2 separate regions of the Homo sapiens genome follow, and region 1 is linked to region 2. Evidence: promoter capture Hi-C in 16 types of primary human blood cells and fetal thymus (Javierre and others, 2016). All regions are on one chromosome and are shown on one strand. Each heading gives the region's core, a stretch centred on a gene start or on the middle of the fragment in contact. The rest is flanking DNA. Distances are from core to core; before and after follow the strand shown.

Region 1 (4,180 bases), core at 799-3,298, 260 kb after region 2:
CTAGACCTAACTACTGATGCAGTATTATTGGTTATGATACTACTTTCTAATCTTTTACTAATGTCAGTTTTGGTAATTTCTACTTTTCTAGGAATTAGCCTATTTCATTGAACTTTAGAATTTTATTGGCATGAAGTTGTTCACAATATCCTCTGTTTCTATTTTTAAACTTTAAAGGCCAGACACAGTGGCTCTCACCTATAATTCCAGCACTTTGGGTGGCTGAGGCAGGAGGATCACTTGAGCCCAGGAATTTGAGATCAGCCTGGCAACACAGCAAGACCCTGCCTCTTAAAAAAAAAATTGAAGGCCAGGCGTGGTGGCTCACGCCTGTAACCCCAGCACTTTAGGAGGCCGAGGCGGGCGGATCACAAGGTCAGGAGTTTGAGACCAGGCTGGCCAACATGGTGAAACCCATCTCTACTAAAAATACAAAAAAAAAAAAAAAAAAAAAGCCGGCGTGGTGGCACATGCCTGTAATTCCAGCTACTTGGGAGGCTGAGGCAGGAGAATCGCTTGAACCCGGGAGGCAGAGGTTGCAGTAACCTGAGATCGTGCCATTGCACTCCAGCCTGGGTGACAGAATGAGACTCCATCTCAACAACAACAACAACAACAACAACAACAAATATATATATATATATATATATATATATATATATATATATATATATAGTGACAAATAGTTTCAAAGTGGTTCAATTGCACTCTGATCTCTATTCCTTCTTTTTACCTTCTTTGGGTATAATTTGTTGTTCTGTTTCAAAGTTCTTGAGATGGATGCTTACTTAGCTTATTGACAATTCAGCCTTTCTTCTTTTCTAATATCTGCATTTAAGGATCTAAGATTTTCCTCTATACATGGCTTCAGCTGCAATTGCACAAATTTTGATAGTGTTTTCATCATTCAGTTTCAAATATTTTATAATTTATACTGTGATTTCTTCTTTGACTCACAAGTTATTTAAAAGAGCATTTCCAAAAATAAAGAGATTTTCTAGTTATTTATTTCCTGAACTTTCATTGAAAAACAAACTGCTTAATCTCAATGCTTGGAAATTGTATGAATTTGTTTTTTGTGTTGTCTGATATTAACATAACACACCAACTTTCATTTAGCTAATGCTAGCAGTGGTATGCCTTGACATCCTTTTACTTTAAAACTTTGTGTATCCTTACATTTCAGGTATGTCTTCTGTAAGCAGTTTTTAAAAATCTGATCTGACAATCATTGTCTCAGTCAAATTACATTTAATGTAACTACTAGCAATCTTTGAGTTGAAATCTGTCACCAGAGAATTTACTTTCCATTTGTCCTGTCTGTTCTATGTCCCTTTTCAGTTGCTTTAAACATTTTTTTGGCCAGGCACATTGGCCCATGCCTGTAATCCTAGTGTTTTAGGAGTCCAAGGCAGGAGGATAGCTTGTGGCCAGGAGTTGGAGATCAGCCTGGACAACATGTGGAGACCCTATCTCTATAAAAAAATAAAATGGCCAGGCATAGTGGCTTATGGCTGCAGTCCTAGCTGCCCAGGAGACAGGCGGGAGGATTGCTTGAGCCCAGGAGTTGGAGGTTGCCGTGAGCTGTGACAGCACCAATGAACTCCAGCCTGGGCAACAGTGCAAGATCCCATCTCTAAGAATATATATACATTTGCTATTGATATCTCCCCATATGCTATTTAGTATGTTAAATATATTTTTACTCTTCTTTTAGCGAATACCTAAAGAGCTAACATCATGCATCAACTTTTTAAAGTGAAGTACGTAATTATTACTTCCTGGATGATGCAAGAACCTTAGCTCACTTCAACTTCCTTTATCCCATCCTAATATTTAATTTTTTAGATATAATTATATATAAATTTAATGCTCTACTAAAATTTTTCATGTTTTATACCATTCCCAGCCTGGACAACAAACTGAGACCCTTGTCTCTACAAAAAATAAAAAAATTAGCCAGCCATGCTGGCGTGTGCCTGTGGTCCCAGCTACACAAAAGGCAGAGGCAAGAGGATTACTTGAGCCCAGGAAGTCAAGGCTGCAGTGAGCAGTGTTCATGCCACTGCACTCCAGCTTGGATGACAGAGAGAGACTCTGTCTAAAAAAATGAAAAAAAAGTTCACATTCATTTTGATTTACACGCATATTTATTTTTGTTCTTTTCATTCTTTCCTGTACCTCTGATCTTCCACCTTTTTCCTTCCTCCTAAAGAATAATTTTGTTACCTGTTTCTGTGTAGATCTGATAGTGGCAAATTCTCTCAATATTTGTCTGGAAATATCTTTGTCTCTTGACTTCCATTGTTTCTGCAGTGAACTTAGCTCTCTTTTTGAGCCTCCTTTGAAAGTAATCTATCTCTTTCCTCTAGCTGCTTTTAAGATTTTCTTTGTCTTTGTGCATGTATGTTTTATTTTAGTTTTAGCAGCTTTACTCTTGTAGCTAAGTGTGGCTTTATATTTCTGTCTTTTTTTCTTCTTTTTTTTGTTGTTTGTTTTTGAAGAAGTTGGTAGGGATTTTTGTTTTTGTTTTTAAAGCAGTTGGAAGGTTTTTTTTTTGTTTTTGAAGCAGTTTTGTTTCAGAAGGTTTGGAGTGTGGTGGCGCTGGAATGCAGTGGCGCAATCTCAGCTCACTGCAGCCTTGACCTCCCAGATTCAAGTGATCCTCCTTCTTCAGCCTCCTGAGTAGCTGGGACCACAGGCGCATGCCACCACACCCGGCTAATTTTTTTGTAGAGTCAGGGTTTTGCCATGTTGGCCGGGCTGGTCTCAAACTCCTGAGCTCAAGAGATCCAACTACCTCAGCCTCCATAAGTGCTGGGATTACAGGGGTGCGCCACCATGCCTGGCCTGCTTTTTTTGTCTTTCTCTTGCTTGAGATGTATAGCCTTTCTTGAATCTACAATGTCTTTTGTTAATTTTTAAAATTGTCATCCATTATCTGTTCAAATATTGATTTATCTTCATTCTCTTTAATATCTTTCTGAAACTCCATTTATATTTATAAGATCTTTTCCCTGTATCTTATGACATATCTTAATCTCTATGTCCCATTTTGGTAAATCTGAACTTTATTCTGTATATTTTTTTCTCATCTATTCTCAAGCTCACAAATCCTTCAGCTGTGTCCAGTTTGCTGTTAAATCATCCAGTGAGTTTTTATCAGTTACTGTACTTTTTAGTTCTAGGGTTTTCTTTTTTTAGCTTCTAGTTCTCTGCTAAATTTCTCCATCTTATAATTCCTTGAACATATTAAATAGTTTTAATGTCAGATCTCCTGTGGGTCTATTTCTATTGTTTGCTGATTTTCTTGGTTTTTCAGACAACGAATCTCTTTGTACTAGTGCTCGTCACTGTATACAAAAATTATAGGGATAATTTAAAGCACTGGATGATATATTATATTTTTAAAAAAATTTCTTTAGAGACAGGGTCTTGCTTGGTCACCCAGGCTGAAGTGTAGTGATGTGATTATAGCTCACTGTAACCTCAAACGCCTGGGCTTAAACAATCCTCCCACCTCAGCCTCCAGAGTAGCTAGTATGGCAGGCGCACACCACCTTGCCCAGCTAATTTTTAGATTTTTTGCAGATATGGGATCTCTCACTATGTTGCTCAGACTGGTCTCCAACTCCTGGCCTCAATTAATCTTCCCTCCTCAGCCTCCCAAAGAACTTGGATTAAAGGTGTAAGCCACGGCACTCAGCTGCATATTTTCTTCTTCCATAGAAGATTCATCTTTAATTATGGCAAGTAAGCTAGAGTAGAGGTGCCGGCAATCTGAGGTCTTCTTAATCTACGTAGGGAATGAGATTATTTGAAGCTGGCCTTTAGTCCCCATGAGTACTGTCGATTCTGGATTCACCTTTAGTCCTAGGGTATACTGGGTGAGGGGAGGGGAGTTTCAATCCCAAACCTAAATTGCGGATCCTAAATTGCAATTCTTGTAATCTCATCTATCCCACCCATGAGTCCATTAGAAATACCATTCAGAGGCCAGGCGCAGTGGCTCAAGCCTGTAATCCCAGCACTTTGGGAGGCCGAGGCAGACAGATCACCTGAGGTCAGGAGGTCGAGACCAGCCTGACCAACATGGAGAAAGCCCGTTTCTACTAAAAATACAAAAATTAGCCGGGCGTGGTGGCAGGCGCCTATAATCCTAGCTAATCCAGAGACTGAG
Region 2 (4,580 bases), core at 1,815-4,314:
CTTCACTGGTCCCAGTTTGCCCTCTGTAAAATGGAGTGGCTGGATCTCTGAAAAGAGAGTCTGTCCAGCTCTTACTTCCTATAATGCTCTAATACTTCTACAAGTGTTTGTCTTCCTAAACCGTTTGGCAAAGTCCTTAGGAAGCTTTTTCTATTTCCCTTCAGAATGATTATTTCGGACTCTGAGTCTTGGATGGTCGTCTCTACAAGCTCCCAAAGGAAAACACCCATGTGGTTTTTGCCTGCTTGAGGTAAATACCACCTTAGGCCAACTACCCCATCTGTAAACTGGGAATAACACCAGATTGCAGGGATGTTGAGGAGGGTTAATTATATACAGAGTGTCTAAGGGTTGAGCAGATACACAAGTGCTCTGGAAGTTCTTGGCATAATACTATAGCATTACAATAATTCTGGCTTGCAAATTATACCCCAGCAGAGGTATCACATGGAAAAGTGGATCCGACTCTACGGCCTGATGAAAGTGACATGGAAAAAATAAGTTATGAAATATAACTTCTCTTCCTGAACTTTTGGAAAAGGCAGAGATAACCTTTCCATGTGCAAGACACATGCAGGGAGCAAGCTTCCAGATTCTGGTGAGGACTTTCTTGTCTCAGGTGGCCTGGCCTATTGCCAGGATCTGAGCCCAGAAGTAGAAATGGGAAGGAAGGGAGCTGGGGAGGATTTGTGGTTGGATGAAAGGTGGGGCTTAAAACAAGGATGTCCTTGCCTTTCAGGTTTTCTACTGGGGCCTCCTTACGTGCAAGATAATTAAGTGCCAATGCGACAGAGGAACAATTTAAAGGGTAACGGAGATACTTAAGTCTAGGTATATTCAAAATAAACATCCTAGCCAGGTCAACTTCTGGGTCCTCTCTGCATGCCCCAGACACATCACATCTCTCTCTCTCTCTCTCTCTCTCTCTCTCTCTCTCTCACACACACACACACACACACACACACACACATCCCTTAGATTATTTCCTGTGAAATGCTAAGTAAATAGATCTCAGGCAATGAAGATGCTCTGTAGCTGGTGATAGTATCTGCGACTGTGAGACGTCACATAGTGGGTTTGGAAAATTCAACTGGCCACAGAGGATGACAGTTTTGTCTGACCAAGGAGGGAAAGGGCAAATAGCTTGATTCTGGAATAACAAATTTGAAGTCAATTTCACTTTACCACTGTGTATGGCTGAGCAGACAGAGGTCAGCTTCAGGATAAGACCGAGTTCAAGTCCTGCTTCTATCACTTCTGTGCTGTGGCCTCAGGCATGAGTCTGGGTGGGTTACAGAGAGGAAGCAGTAACAGCTCTCAGGCCTTCCCTGTCCAAATGTCTCAGATTGAAATCTGAGTTTGACCTCTACTTCCAGCGTGGCCAGAACTATGATGTGATCAAAAGAGCCCCTGGCCTTGCTGTCTGCCCTCACAGTTCCCACTGTTACTACAGGATATGGGAAAAACAGACTCCCCCAAAGCACATCTATAACAGACAGACAGCAAATGCAGATTATTGATTTGGGCTATTGTTTTAGTAAATCAACATTCTTAGAGAATTTCTCAGCTCTCAGGTGCCCACATCTTAGAGTTAAGTCACATTTTGAGGGTTGCCCAGGCAAATTCAAAGCAGCACCAGGCCCTAGTGGCAGCTACTTCATCTTTAGGCAGCATTTCCCTCTCAACAGGGAGCATGCCACCTCCCCTGGGTGCAGATCCCAGGAAAAGTTACACTGACCAAATCAGGCCACTCCCTGGGACTGTTTCCTCAATTTTGGTTAATAATCAAAGGATGATCTGAAATCGCAAAGAAGAGACTCTTGGAAAAGACATAATTATGGTGCCACCCGACTTAGGAACTGGCATCCAAGTCCACCTGTGTGACTTTCCTCTGGGCCTCAGTTTCTCCATCTGTAAAATGAGGTCCTGTATTTATTTTTTGAGACGGAATCTCCCTCTGTCGCCCAGGCTGGAGTGAAGTGGTGTGATCTCGGCTCACTGCAACCTCTGCCTCCCAGGTTCAAGCAATTCTCTGCCTCAGCCTTCCGAGTAGCTGCTGGGATTACAGGTACCCGCCACCACACCCGGCTAATTTTTGTATTTTTAGTAGAGACGGGGTTTCACCATCTTGGCCAGGCTGGTATTAAACTCCTGACCTCGTGATCCACCCGCCTCGGCCTCCCAAAGTGCTGGGATTACAGGCGTGAGACACCGCACCCGGCCGAGGTCCTGTATTAAATGGATCCTTGCCAGCTCCTACAACATAAGGCATTAAATGTTCCCACAACTTGCTCCCCGCCGGCTGGCAGCGAACAGGGCTAAAGCCTCGACTTCCTCAGAGGTGAAAAGGTAAGCAAACATTCCGACCTCCCCTAGCCTTGCTCTCGGATTGGTGCTGGGCCCGGCTCCCACCGCCTATCCCGACCACATCCGTCATCTGGACTGCTAATACACTCATTAGCATAAAGATTCCTCCGAAGACCTGGCGCACGGGGCTGAACCGGAGTCTGTCCCTTTAAGGAAGAGGGACAGCCACTCTGTCCCTAAGGGCACTAGGCACTGCATTTCCTCCACACGGGCCACGCTGTAAACTAGACAGGTTCCGTGTTAATCCACTCTCCCTCCTCAACCCCGACAGGGGGATCCCTGGAGTGAACAACGCGCGGGGTCCCGGGGGACTGCGGAAAGGTTTGGCCTCTGCGCGTAGCAGGCTCCGCCAGGCAACCTCTCGCCCGAGGCGGCGGCGAGCTGCAAGCTAGGTGGAGCCGGCTGCGCGGCGGGACCCCAGCGCCCTGGGGCAAGACCCTGGTGCTGGCGCCAGGGCAGCCGCGGGAGGTGGCGTGTGCAGGAGCGGAGAGGTGCGCCCACCCCGGCCCCGGGCGCGAGGGGGGCGGGGCTTGGGCCGCGGCCCGGGGCCAGGCTCGCGGGGATGGGCGGTGCTGGGTCTGCGGGAGCGGGCGGGGGGCGGGGCGCGCGAGCGGGCTCCGGGGGGGCGGGGCGGCGGCGCGGGGCGGGCTCTGGCGGCCTGAGTGTCACACACGCGGCGGCTCGGGAGGCGGCGGCAGTGGCAGCGACAGGCGCCGCCGGGACGGGCACGGGCGCGCGGGCTCCGGCGGGCGCCGGCTGCCTTCCTCCGTCGCTCGCTGTCTCTCCCGGCCGCATTCTCCTCCGCTGCGGGGCCGAGCTCTCCCCAGCGCTCGCAGGAAGGAAGAAGGGAGCCGAGGACGCCGAGAAGTTCCCGCGGCAGCCGCGGATCCCGGCCAAGGCGGAGGCTGCGGCTCCGACGGGGCAGGAGCGCGATCCACGGCGAGGGGCGTACGGCCAAAGGGTCCGCGGCGTGGAGCGCTCGGACCTTCCGCTCTCCCCCGGGCGTGGGCCGGGACCCCATGAGACGCGCCCACGAGGGGCGCGAGATTCCTAGCTTGGGCGGCGCTAGGCGGAGGGAGGTGTTGCAGCCGCCGGAGCCAGAGAGCTGCCGGCAGGAGGCGGCGGCGGCAAGAACTTGAACTTGGCGTCGGGAGCGGGCGCCCCGGACGCCCCCCGCCGGGGCCGGGGCGCCGAGGGACCTGCGCCGCAGCGCTGCCCCCCGAATGGCCGCGGCGGCGGACCGGGCTCCCGCGCCGCGGCCCTAGGCGGCCTCTCGCCATGGCCAAGTGGCTAAACAAGTACTTCAGCTTGGGCAACAGCAAGACCAAGAGCCCCCCGCAGCCGCCGCGGCCAGACTACCGCGAGCAGCGGCGCCGAGGCGAGCGGCCTTCGCAGCCCCCCCAGGCCGTGCCGCAGGCCTCCTCCGCCGCCTCGGCGTCCTGCGGTCCGGCCACCGCCTCCTGCTTCTCAGCCTCTTCGGGCTCGCTGCCCGACGACAGCGGCAGCACCAGCGACCTCATCCGCGCCTACCGCGCGCAGAAGGAGCGAGACTTCGAGGACCCCTACAACGGGCCTGGCTCGTCGCTGCGCAAACTGCGCGCCATGTGCCGCCTGGACTACTGCGGCGGCAGCGGGGAGCCAGGCGGGGTCCAGCGCGCCTTCTCGGCCTCGTCCGCGTCGGGCGCCGCGGGCTGTTGCTGCGCCTCCTCGGGCGCGGGGGCCGCCGCGTCCTCGTCCTCGTCCTCCGGCTCTCCGCATCTCTACCGCAGCAGCAGCGAGCGGCGGCCCGCCACGCCGGCCGAGGTGCGCTACATCTCCCCCAAGCACCGCCTCATCAAAGTGGAGAGCGCCGCGGGCGGTGGGGCCGGGGACCCCCTGGGGGGCGCCTGCGCGGGCGGCCGCACCTGGAGCCCGACGGCCTGCGGAGGCAAGAAACTGCTCAACAAGTGCGCCGCCTCAGCCGCGGAGGAGAGCGGGGCCGGCAAGAAGGACAAGGTAAGGTGCCCCTTGGCCTCTTCCCGAGGTTCCAGAGCCACGGTGCGCACGGGGAAACCGAGGCACCCGCCGCTCTGGTGTTGAGTCTCTACTTCAGCTTCGGCCTAGGACCCTGGGTCGGGGCTGGCGTGCTGCTTCCCGCTTCTGCCTCCTCCCGCGCCCTTTTCCTGGGACCGGCGGCCTCCTGACCCCACCTCTTTCGCCGCTGCTTCCAGAAC

The links. The method cuts DNA at HindIII sites, captures the fragments that hold promoters and counts their contacts. A CHiCAGO score of 5 or more calls a contact.
Region 1: a contact is called between a fragment that was not itself captured here and the fragment with the promoter of SHB in region 2, in 2 of 17 cell types (monocytes and neutrophils). The highest score is 6.7, in monocytes.

The regions. Positions count from the first base shown.
Region 1 is chr9:37,810,576-37,814,755 of GRCh38, reverse strand. All of the region lies in intron 1 of DCAF10 (DDB1 and CUL4 associated factor 10), which reads right to left. Among named protein-coding and RNA genes, the nearest start is that of DCAF10, 12 kb to the right of the region's middle. The HindIII fragment of the contact is 4,860 bases long and covers 1-4,180 here.
Region 2 is chr9:38,067,711-38,072,290 of GRCh38, reverse strand. SHB (SH2 domain containing adaptor protein B) reads left to right here and starts at 3,064. Exons shown (of 6, transcript NM_003028.3): 1 at 3,064-4,362. The coding sequence starts at 3,646. It overlaps LOC105376039 (a long non-coding RNA gene), which reads left to right. Exons shown (of 4, transcript XR_007061483.1): 3 at 165-250; 4 at 740-864. RefSeq lists silencers at 2,654-3,463, 3,884-3,933 and an enhancer at 3,824-4,580. The HindIII fragment of the contact is 5,108 bases long and covers 588-4,580 here.